Regions from separate parts of the Homo sapiens genome. Here regions 2 and 3 are each linked to region 1. The links are contacts of gene promoters, found by promoter capture Hi-C in human tissues and cell types (Jung and others, 2019). All regions are on one chromosome and are shown on one strand. The core of a region is centred on a gene start or on the middle of the fragment in contact, and the rest is flanking DNA. Distances in the headings are between cores, read along the strand shown. Region 1 holds the start of EEF1D (eukaryotic translation elongation factor 1 delta). Region 2 overlaps ZC3H3 (zinc finger CCCH-type containing 3). Region 3 has its middle 6.6 kb from the start of ZNF707.

Region 1 (3,712 bases), core at 444-2,943:
GCACCCGCACAGCGCCATCCGGTGTCTGCAGCTCCTCCGGGGGACCGAGGGGCTCCGGCCTGCACCGCACGGGGGCATCCTCGCTGTCCAGGGCGGGCATACTGGCAGCTGGGCTTGGGCAGGGCGGGTGGGCCACCAGCAGCACGGCCTTCTGCTGCAGGCAGCTTCGGCGCAGGTAGCGTTTGACGCCTGGGACAAATTCCTCAAAGAACCAGCCCCGCAGCAGCGGGCGGCTGAGCCAGGCGTCGGGGCTGTAGCGGTAGGAGGCCGGGAACTTGTCCTGGTTGTGGTGGCGCAGGCTGGGCGGGTCCGGCAGCCGCCCGATGACCAGCGGCTTCAGCTTGTGGCTGCCGGTCAGGTTTGCGGCCAGCAGCACCGTTACGCGGTCGCCCCGCCAGCGCCGGCCACAGCCCCCCGCCCCGGGGTCCCCTGCGCCCGGGGGCGCAGCCTGCTCCGGAAGCAGCTTCCAGTAGAGGCCGGTGACGCTGGCGCTGTAAATCTGCTCGTCCCCGTAGCCGCCCTCGGCCGGGGGCGGCGGGGCCGGGGCGCGGTCGGGCAGGGGGCCGGCGCCGGAGGGCAGCGCGGGCTCCTCCTTGACGGGCGGGCCGGGCGCGGGGCTCGGGGCTGGGGGCCCGGCCTCGCCGTAGAAGCGCTGGCTGGAGATGCCGTGGCGCTTCTGCCAGCGCCAGAACCAGCCGTGGCTGGCCTTGAAGGTGCACTCGGGCCCGTAGATCTGGCGCGCGAAGGCCTCGGCCTGCGCCTGGATGAGCGGGCCAGACAGCGGCACCCCGTGCTGGCGCAGCGCCAGGAACCAGGCGTACACGGCGCGGTCGATCTCCTCCTCGTTGGCCAGCCGCATCTTCTTGCGCTGAGTGCCCACCTCACCGCCCAGCTGCTCCAGGAACCAGCGCAGCTTGGGCTCGTCCTTGAGCCAGCCGCGCAGCGTCCCGCCCGGCACGCCGAAGTCGCGGCACACACTGGCCTGCCGCTCGCCGCCCTTGACGCGCTCGATGGCCTGCAGCTTGTCCTTGATGGAGTAGGCCTTGCGGAAGGCCATCTTCACGGCCACGCGGGGCCGCGGCCCGGGCGCGGGGGGCGGCGGCCGTGCAGCGGGGACGGGGGCTGGGGCGGGCGCGGGGGGCCCGGGCAGGGGACGGCGGCCGCGGCGCGGTACCGGGCCGGCCGGGGGGCCCGCGGGGTACATGGCTGCGGCGGGGGGGACCCGGGCCGCGCGGGTCGCGGGAGCCACACGCCCAGCCGCTCGGGGCGGGGCACTCGGGGGCGGGGCCGCACGGGTCCCTCCCCTTTGTCCCGCAGCTTGGCGGGCGCACGCGCGCTGACCTAGCCCGGCCCGGCCCCGCCCCGCGCCTGCGCGCTGGCCGCCTCGTGCGTCACTCGGCGCTTGCCGGCTGCCGGACCCGCCCCCACCGGCGACACCACTGGCCGCGAAGCGCAGGGGGGGCGCGCGCGCTGCCGCCCGTTCCCAGCACTTGTGCAGACTCCTCCGGGGAAGAGCGGCCTCCGCGGTCATCTCCAACGGAATTCTGCCTTTGAAGTGTCGGGGCACGGCGCGTCGAGGGTCCTGGCGGCCAGGCGGGGCGTGTGCAAGGGTCGCGTCCCCCCCCCGGGCCCCCGGCCCGTGGCTCTTGGTAGAGCCCAGTGCTTCATTTCCCGTGCGCGGCCCGGGCGGCCCTCCCTTTCATCAGTCTTCCCGCGTCCGCCGATTCCTCCTCCTTGGTCGCCGCGTCCTTGGCTGGCGTGTGAGTACCGCGGCCCCCGCCGGAAGGAGTCGGGCGCGACAGAGACGCCCGAGGGGCCGGGAGGGCGGGCGGCCCGGGCTGCGCCAGAAGCTCGCGCCGTTAGGGACTGAGGCACAAGTGCGCCAGCGCGGGCTTAGGGGCCGTGGGCCAAGTGCGGCACTTGGGGCGAGCGCAGAGAGGCGGGGCGACGGAGGCCACGTGGCCGGCTTGGAGGGCGTCCGCGGGACGGGGGCGCCGGGAGCACTGTCTCACGGCGCATCCCGGTCGTGGAAGCCCCTCGGCCAGGCTGCTGGGGCCTAAGGCCTGTGTTTGCTGCCGTCTCCGTGGGAGACCAGACATCTGCCCCAGCTGTTTCTCTGGCCTGCAGACCTTCGTACACCACGTCTTTGTCAAGCACCAGTTACTGCACGCATCAGCTGAGCACGGAGGGGATAGGCACGGACGCAACACTTTTGGAACTTAGACGCTAGTGAGCACGGAAAGGAATAAGCCTGTACTGTGACTGGGTCAAAATTTCTGTCTCTTGATTTGGATAGGGTGGTCGGGCAGTCTCTGAAGGGGGCGGGGATGCTGTTGCTAAGAAGTAGTACTTTCAGAGGCTTTAAGTGGAAGGAAGAAGGCAAAGGGGGCGGAGTGGGTTGGGGACCTGATGAGACGTCAGGATTGGTTTCCAGAATGAAGGACCGCCTGGCAGCAGAAGAACTGTGTAGCTAAACTTGGGGTTGTCCCTGCCCGACAGGGCGGGGTGCTTCTTAAGTTGACACTGCCTGCGGCTCACCTCCCAGGGAGGCAGGCCAGGCCATCTCACCTGAGCAGCCTCCTTCTACAGCTCCGCCCACCCCGTCATCTGGACCCCATGAGCCTTAAGCAGCTGGCTCGCAGGCAGTTGGTTACTTCCGGAGCCCGTGTGTGCCCAGCCCCGTTCTGGGGGTGGGGGATGCAGCTGAGGGGCTGGGCAGGTGTGGAAGGAGCCCCCGAGCGTCCTCTGAGGAAGTAGACGCTCACCTTCGCCTTCTCACCACATGCCTCAGGCCCAGCCAGGCTCCTAGACCTGCCTCTGTAGAGGCTTTCTGGGCGCAGTGCCAATCCTGTGAGACAGCAGCATCTCCCCTGGGCTGCTGCAGGGTTCACACGCAGTCAGTGCTGGCAGAGTGAGCGCCCAGCCGACAGAGCCCCCGCTGCCTCCCGCCTCCTCTGGAGGACTAGGCCCTCTGGGCTTTGCTCCCGGGTTGCTGGGTGAGGCTGCAAGGTTTAGCACAGGTGGGCACACGTGCTTGATGATGGACAAAGAGTACCTGGGCTGTGCCGTGCACTGGCGTCAGCCTTCTGGGGGCTGAGGACAGGAAATGTGGCATTGAGGATTTGTGGGTCATCATCCTGTGCCAGTGTGTTAAGGTGACATCAGCGTGTTGGAAGCTGGTGGCAGTGAGTTATGCTAAGTGCTGGTGTAGGAGCCTGCCACAGGTCTCCAGCTCTCCCACCTCGCTGACAGCCAAGGGTGCCGTGTGAGGTGTGGCGTGGGTATTGTCTGGGGTTCCAGAAAGCCTGTGCCGTGCTGGAGTCACCCAGGAGGCACAGGGGCTGCGCCGGGCAGGCAGGTCGGCCAGAGCCCCTCAAGCAGGGCTGGCCATGGAGCTGGCCTGCAGTGGCATTTAAGAAAAGACGTGGTTGGGGCGGGGCTTGGCCTGGGGCAGGGTGGGTTGGGTAGCTACAGTGAGTGCTCTGAGATATGCAGGACAGGCTGGCGTTTCCCAGTGGGGCTGGAATATCCAGGGGTCAGACAGGAAAGTGGCTGAGTGGGAATGTGGAACTGTGGAGTTTTTTCTCTTAAAAAGACCAAAGGCGGCTGGGCGTGGTGGCTCATGCTGGTGATCCCAGCACTTTGGGAGGCCGAGGCAGGCAGATCATGAGGTCAGGATATCGAGACCATCCTGGCCAACATGGTGAAACCC
Region 2 (3,712 bases), core at 895-3,394, 110 kb after region 1:
GTGGTGGGGCCGTGTAGCGGGTGCTGTTCTGTGTGTGAGCTTCGTGGTGATGGGGCCGTGTAGCGGGTGCTGTTCTGTGTGTGAGCTTCGTGGTGATGGGGCCGTGTAGCGGGTGCTGTTCTGTGTCTGAGCTTCGTGGTGGTGGGGCCGTGTAGCGGGTGCTGTTCTGTGTGTGAGCTTCGTGGTGGTGGGGCCGTGTAGCGGGTGCTGTTCTGTGTGTGAGCTTCGTGGTGATGGGGCCGTGTAGCGGGTGCTGTTCTGTGTGTGAGCTTCGTGGTGATGGGGCCGTGTAGCGGGTGCTGTTGTGTGTCTGAGCTTCGTGGTGGTGGGGCCGTGTAGCGGGTGCTGTTCTGTGTGTGAGCTTCGTGGTGGTGGGGCCGTGTAGCGGGTGCTGTTCTGTGTGTGAGCTTCGTGGTGGTGGGGCCGTGTAGCGGGTGCTGTTCTGTGTCTGAGCTTCGTGGTGGTGGGGCCGTGTAGCGGGTGCTGTTCTGTGTCTGAGCTTCGTGGTGGTGGGGCCGTGTAGCGGGTGCTGTTCTGTGTCTGAGCTTCGTGGTGGTGGGGTCGTGTAGCGGGTGCTGTTCTGTGTGTGAGCTTCGTGGTGATGGGGCCGTGTAGCGGGTGCTGTTCTGTGTCTGAGCTTCGTGGTGGTGGGGCCGTGTAGCGGGTGCTGTTCTGTGTCTGAGCTTCGTGGTGGTGGGGCCGTGTAGCGGGTGCTGTTCTGTGTCTGAGCTTCGTGGTGGTGGGGCCGTGTAGCGGGTGCTGTTCTGTGTCTGAGCTTCGTGGTGATGGGGTCGTGTAGCGGGTGCTGTTCTGTGTGTGAGCTTCGTGGTGATGGGGTCGTGTAGCGGGTGCTGTTTTGTGTGTGAGCTTCGTGGTGGTGGGGTTGTGGAGCAGGTGCTGTTTTGTGTGTGAGCTTCTTGGTGGTGGGGTCATGTAGCGGGTGCCATTCTGTGTCTGACTTCTTTTGTTCATCACTTTTCATGGACTGAATTGTGTCCCCCACCAAGTTCATAGATGGAAACCCTAACCCCCAATGTGACTACGTTTGGGGATGGGGTCTTCAAACAGGTAATTGAGGTTAAATGGGATTATACGTGTTTGGCCCTGATCCACTAGGACTAATGTCCTTACAAGAATAAAAAGTGCCACCAGGGGCACATGCCCAGAGGAAAAGCCACGGGAGGACAGTACAAGCCAGGAAGGGAGACCTCACCAGAAACCAGCCTTGCCAGAGCCTCGGTGCGGCCCCAGCCTTGTGAGAAAGTGTGTTTCTGTTGTCGTAGCCGCCCACTGCAGAGCATTCCATGGCAGCAGCCAGGCAGCCGTAGGCGCCCACGTTTCTCACTCCGCTACATTGCCGCGCCTGGCGGGAACTCATTCTTTTTCCCTGCCGTGTGGTGTTCTGTGATATGGATACGCCATGTGTGTCCATCTTGCAGTTGATGGGTGGGTATCTGGAGTCTCTCCCATCCTTGCCAGTTATGAAGCTGCTGTCTTGGGTGTGTCTCTGGGTGCTGGTAGCCCTCGTTTGTGTGGAGTTGCTGCCTCAGAGGGTGATGGACACTGAGCTTTGGAAGCTGTCCCAGGTAGCTGTCCCAGCCTGCCAGCAGCAGCATGTGAGCATTGTGGCTGGCCCGTGGCCTTGGCCAGGATTCTCAGGCCCGTGTCTCCTGTTCTTGCCATGCTGGGGGGTGTGGGGCCTCACGCCCATCCCGCTGGCTGGCATTGCTGGGCATCTTTTTCTTCACTCAGGTCTCCTGGTGGTGCCCTTCTTTACTGTAAAGGGCCTCTTTGGGTGTTGGCCTGTTTTTGTGTGATTTGCCTTTTGGCTGATTTGTGGGAGTTTGTTTTTGTTGTGGATGTTTTCCGCCCCACACGTCTGCTTACAGCGAGGGACCTGCTCTTCCACGGCATCTGGTTTTTTAGCCTTTTATGAGTAGTGCTCTTTGTGTCCTGTTTAAGAAATATTTGTCTATCCCACATTCATGTTTTCTTCTAGAAGCTTGGCTATTTTAGCTTTTATATTTTAAGCCTGAGGCTTCTTGAATTAATTTTTACCTGTGGTCTGAGGTAGGGGCCAGAGTCCTTTTGTCTCCCCATGGAGACACATGTATTGAAATGAGATCCTGACCCACTCAGGTGCAGGGGCGCCTGCGTCACTCGGGTGAGCAGATGTATGGGCTGTTCCCAGACTCTCCATCCTCACTGTTGACCCACTTGTCTGTGCCCTTCGTTATTCCTGAATGCTTACTCTTCCAGACCACCTTAGAAACACTGGACCGGGTTCTCGGCCTCACCAAGGAACCAGCCTCCAAATCATAGATTTGCATTTTCTTCTTCTTAGGATTTCAGCCACACACACAACAAACACTTCAGATCCCTGGCCCCGCCTGCCTCCCTCCTGTTCTCAGCACCAGGGGGACTCATGCTCCATAACTTCCACATGTTGGCCCGGCGCCCCTGCTGTAGAATTTTTCCTCAGTTATTTGAGAGTGTTTCTGGCTTCTCTTCTTTGTATGTTCCAACTGGTGTTTGCCACTGTCTTGCAGGGCTTTGGTTTTCACACATCTTTGCTTCATAATCAGTTCTGGTTACCCCTCTGAAGTGAGTGGGTTTTTATTGTGGTTTTCCCGTGGTTTTTGCAGATACCACTGTCCTTGCAAGGGCCGCATGAAGTTTGCTGAGGTCACCACGCCTTTCCAGGGAGCTGAGCCGGATTTGCTGTGTGGTCTTCGGAGGGGCTGTCCCAGGGCCTGGGAGTGGGGGGATGTCTGCTGTGAGTCTCTTTAGACAGCAGTGACCTGAGGGGTCCTTGAGGGCCTAGGCAGGATTCCTGGCCAGCCTGCCCCTCAGTAGCTGGCACAGACAGAGTGGGTCCTGGGCCGATGACCCAGCCCAAAGGGTGGCACAGGTGCAGAGGGTCGCGGGCCCGCCAAGGACAGCTGCACCTGGCCGCCTGGCACCTCTGCCGGACGAGCTGAACTCGGCACTCCGGGGCCATGAAGTCCCACTAATACTTGTTTTTTTGCAGCTGACATACAAAACACCAATAGCTTCAGCTGAAATGGATTTTTAAAAGTGTCATTTTATGGAGAATTTTACTTTCCATCTTGTTGTTTATTAGGCTCTTAAAGGGAAAGCTTGTAATGCATCCATTGATCGAAATACCAATTGAATAGATGTGAGCACATAAAATACATAAAATAGTCCCAGCCCCTCATAATGGAGCACGACGTTTGTAACGGAGGCAGTGTCATTAGTATTGCCCCCTGCCACCCAGCCAGGCTGCAGAGGCGCCTCCGAATCCTTCTTATTCATTACTGGGGTGAGACGGGGCAGGGATGGCCCTCGGAAGGACCAGTGCCCAGTGAGGAAGTCCTCAGATGTCACAACAGAGCCTCCACCCCACGAGTCAGCCCAGGGGCCGGGGGAGCCAGCCGTGCTCAGCCTCAGCTGGACCAGTCGCACTCAAGGCTGTCCCTGTCCTCAGGGGCCCCCAAACAAGGCTGCTGTCCCTAAGGCTGCATGGCTCTTTCCCCTCATGGCGCCCCTGGCCGCTGGTGCAGGGCTCTCAGCTCCCACCCAGGCCTGTAACCCTGCCTGCCTGCTGAAGGTGTATCCTGGAAAGCCAAGCGGCTGGACGGTCTCTGCAGGCCCCCATACTGGGAGGTAGATGCTGTGGGGGTGACAGCGGGACTAGAGAGCCCATCTG
Region 3 (3,712 bases), core at 710-3,209, 80 kb before region 1:
CTGCCTCAGCCTCCTGAGTACCTGGGACTACAGGCGCCCGCCACCATGCCCAGCTAATTTTTTTTTTTTGTATTTTTAGTAGAGACGGGGTTTCACCGCGTTAGCCAGGATGGTCTCGATCTCCTGACCTCATGATCCGCCTGCCTCAGCCTCCCAAAAAGCTGGGATTACAGGCGTGAGCCACCGCGCTCGGCTGTGCTGAAGCATTCTGGTGAACTAGAGTAGTGATGAAACCTTTTACCATTTGAAGGAGTACAGGTAGTAAACAACGGATCAGTAAGCAGGTTCTTATTACTACTGTAATTTTTATTATAAGAGTTTTAAATCCTCTTAGCGCTGGGAACCATTTTCAAACATGGCCTCAGGATCAAATCCGTGCCACGCTTGTACAGGCACATGTGCCAGTTTCGTCATGTCTTTAACTGTATCTTCAACTACTTGCCCCGATCATGTATGTGCAGGCAGCAATTGGTAAGGTTCAATTTCCCACAGACTTCTCCTTCAGCTGCTAGCAAGTAGTCGAGAGTCAATTTATTTTGATAGATAGCATTTCTCATCTGAGTTTCTTGCCGGGCCAGAATAGTCAAGGCTCTGCCGGTCCTATTAGTGATTATTTCTAAGACAGCTTGTAACCGTATGATTTGGTTGAGCATGTAGATGGGGGTCCGGTATCCCCACAAGCCATCTTGTGCCCAAGTAGCAGGCCTATAATATTCCATCATTCTCTCAGGGGGCCATTTATTATCTTTCTTATTTTTTTATAGCTATGCTTCTCTTTTCGCGGGAAACATAGGGAAGCCCAGGAGTTCACCTGTCTTTATAGGCAGTAGGAAGAAAGATGGTTTAATAGTGCCAATCACACAACTGCCTGCCCACTGGTCGGGTAATTTGGTGTAAGGCCTATGCCCACACATTCAGTATAATCCAGTGGGGGCTGTCCAGTCTCGGTGGGACTCCGGATGGGTCCACACGGTTTGCAACTTTGGGAATTTACTAAATGGATTTTTCTTAGTATGGTTTGAACTCCACTAGGTGGCTGTTTTTGTAGTACCATTATACAGTTTTTGCCTAAGGCAGCTGAGTCGTCCTACAGGAAGGGTGAAGTCCTTCCTTACTCTTTTTTTTTTTTTTTTTTTTTTGAGACGGAGTCTTGCTCTGTCACCCAGGCTGGAGTGCAGTGGCGTGATCTCAGCTCACTACAAGCTCTGCCTCCCGGGTTCACGCCATTCTCCTGCCTCAGCCTCCCGAGCAGCTGGGACTACAGGCGCCCGCCACCACGCCTGGCTAATTTTTTATATTTTTAGTAGAGACGGGGTTTCACCGTGTTAGCCAGGATGGTCTCCATCTCCTGACCTTGTGATCCGCCCGCCTCGGCCTCCCAAAGTGCTGGGATTACAGGCGTGAGCCACCGCGCCCGGCCCCTTACTCTTGCTATACAGTATTGTCTAGTGATTGAGGCTTTTAGGACCCGGAAGTTATCAGGGTGATTTTTCTGAGCCAGGAATTCGTCAGGAACTGGGTCTGTAGGTACTAATTCTTGGGCTTCCCGTGGCCATTGGTCTTTTATTATAGTTCCTCCACACACATAGCATGAAGTGACATTGAGAGACTGGGCTACATGGTCAGCTAATTGCAAACAAATTTCTTATTTTTCCTGGAATTTCTGGTGCTGGCACATTCAGTTCATCATAGAAGGTTTGAAATACTGGCTCAGGAGAGCGTTTATAAACTTCTCCTCAAACCACAATATTTACTTGAAGATCCAGTCCAGCCCCATGAATTTCTAGGGTTATGGCCGGGCACGGTAGCTCACGCCTGTAATCCCAGCACTTTGGGAGGCAGAGGCGGGCGGATCACGAGGTCAGGAGATCGAGACCATCCTGGCTAACACGGTGAAACCCCATCTCTACTAAAAATACAAAAAATTAGCCGGGTGTGGTGGCGGGCACCTGTAGTCCCAGCTACTCAGGAGGCTGAGGCAGGAGAATGGCGTGAACCCGGGAGGCAGAGCTCGCAGTGAGCCGAGATCGCTCCACTGCACTCCAGCCTGGGTGACAGACCGAGACTCCATCTCAAAAAAAAAAAAAAATTCTAGGGTTACACATTTCCTTTTTTTCCAGCGAGGATTAAGGGGGTTGGTTATTACTAGTTCTAAGGGGTTACACTGACCACTGGTATAGGAAGGGCCACTTTTCCTTTTCTGAAGGTGGACAGAATTTTTTTCATTTTTTATCCAAGTAGCCTAAATGACACAAGACCAGTAACTACATTCATTTCCACACAGTCCTAACTCATGATAAATGTACTTATTTTCTGCCATACAGCCTCTTTCCTAATGAAGAGAACCACATCCTATTCCTAACTTATTAGTATTAATGACAGCACAGGCATCACACTTCAAGGTGACTTGTTTGGGCACCTCTTTTTGTTTGTTTTTTTTGGCTAACACTTTACTCATATTGTTTATGAGCCCCCACCAGTCTTTAATTCTTAATCTTATTTGAAAAACTGTGGTCATGGGAGGCTCAGATGGGTCATAACACACATCAGGTTGGTCATTTCCTGGGCACATACCTTGTATAGAATAACATTATACAAACAAGTTCTTTTTAGAGTTCCAGTACACTTATAATAACCGTAAAATAATGGGACTGTAGCAACATTTTGTCCTCCCTCAGTGACTTGATGTATACACTAGGAACAGTCCTCAGTCTGAGGAGGGTGAGTTGAAGTCCTTACTGTACAAGTCCAAATTTTAAGGAAAACGAGTCCTGCGATGAGTTTCCTCATGCTTCGGCCGTGCATGGACCAGTCAGCTTCTGGGCGTGACTGGAGCAGGGCTTGTCGTCTTCCTCAGAGTCACTTTGCAGGGGTTGGCGAAGCTGCTGCTATCCACGTACTGCTCACAGTCTACTGATGTTCAAGGATGGTCTCGGAGGTTGCGCCTGCTAGAATAAACTGAGTCCAACACCTCTACACAGTTATGTTCAACTGGGCTCCCCGATACCGGGAGCAAGGTGCTGGGGTTTAGGGTGTTGCAAACTGCAGTGGTTATGTGGGGATTTTCACACAGCAAGCTTTGGTACTTGGTTAATCTAGCATTTGTTAGCCAATGATGTCCTTTGGGATTCATCAAAGTTACCACAGCATGGGGGGCCTTTATATTCAGGTTTTGTCCAAGAGTTAGTTTATCTGCTTCTTGTGCTAACAGGGCCGTTGCTGCCGGGGCCCTTAGACACGGGGGCCAGGCTTTGGAAACCCCCTATAGTTGTTTAGAGAGATAGGCCACTGCCCTTAGCCAGGGCCCCACAGTCTAGGTTAAAACTCCAAATGCCATTTTTTCTCTTTCTGACACATAGAGTGTAAAAGGTTTTGTCACGTCAGGTAGACTCAGGGCTGGGGCCAACAGGAGTTTTTCTTTTAACTCATGAAAAGCTTGTTGCTGTTGGTTGTAATAGATGTAGTTTATCTAATCTACACTTTTATTAACTGTCACCTACTAAAATATTGACGTAAATCCTATAGCTATTTGATTTCAAGCTTTAATTGATCTGGTGTTCCTTGAGGGGCCCCAACTGCATCCAAATAGACGTGAGAGTTGAAAGACCCATAAGGGGCTTCTCTCGCTTTATGACGTCTTATTTTTTCTCCCTCTGGTTGATGAAATGCCAGGGTGAAAGGGATAGCCAAACGGACTAAAGCACAAGTGCCA

What was found. Contacts are between HindIII fragments. The study calls those that stand out against the background at their distance.
Region 2: a fragment that was not itself captured here is called in contact with the fragment with the promoter of EEF1D in region 1 in 3 of the 25 tissues and cell types used here (H1 embryonic stem cells, mesendoderm cells and thymus).
Region 3: a contact is called between a fragment that was not itself captured here and the fragment with the promoter of EEF1D in region 1, in 11 of the 25 tissues and cell types used here (H1 embryonic stem cells, dorsolateral prefrontal cortex, heart left ventricle and 8 more).

The regions. Positions count from the first base shown.
Region 1 is chr8:143,595,396-143,599,107 of GRCh38, reverse strand. It overlaps EEF1D (eukaryotic translation elongation factor 1 delta), which reads left to right and starts at 1,693. Exons shown (of 10, transcript NM_001130053.5): 1 at 1,693-1,760. It overlaps TIGD5 (tigger transposable element derived 5), which reads right to left and starts at 1,277. Exons shown (of 1, transcript NM_032862.5): 1 at 1-1,277. The coding sequence starts at 1,204. RefSeq lists an enhancer at 2,446-3,045. The HindIII fragment of the contact is 45,525 bases long and covers 1-3,712 here.
Region 2 is chr8:143,483,881-143,487,592 of GRCh38, reverse strand. The region is part of intron 4 of ZC3H3 (zinc finger CCCH-type containing 3); the gene reads left to right. Among named protein-coding and RNA genes, the nearest start is that of SNORD149, 21 kb to the left of the region's middle. The HindIII fragment of the contact is 3,349 bases long and covers 470-3,712 here.
Region 3 is chr8:143,675,984-143,679,695 of GRCh38, reverse strand. No RefSeq gene overlaps it. Among named protein-coding and RNA genes, the nearest start is that of ZNF707, 6.6 kb to the left of the region's middle. The HindIII fragment of the contact is 5,591 bases long and covers 1-3,712 here.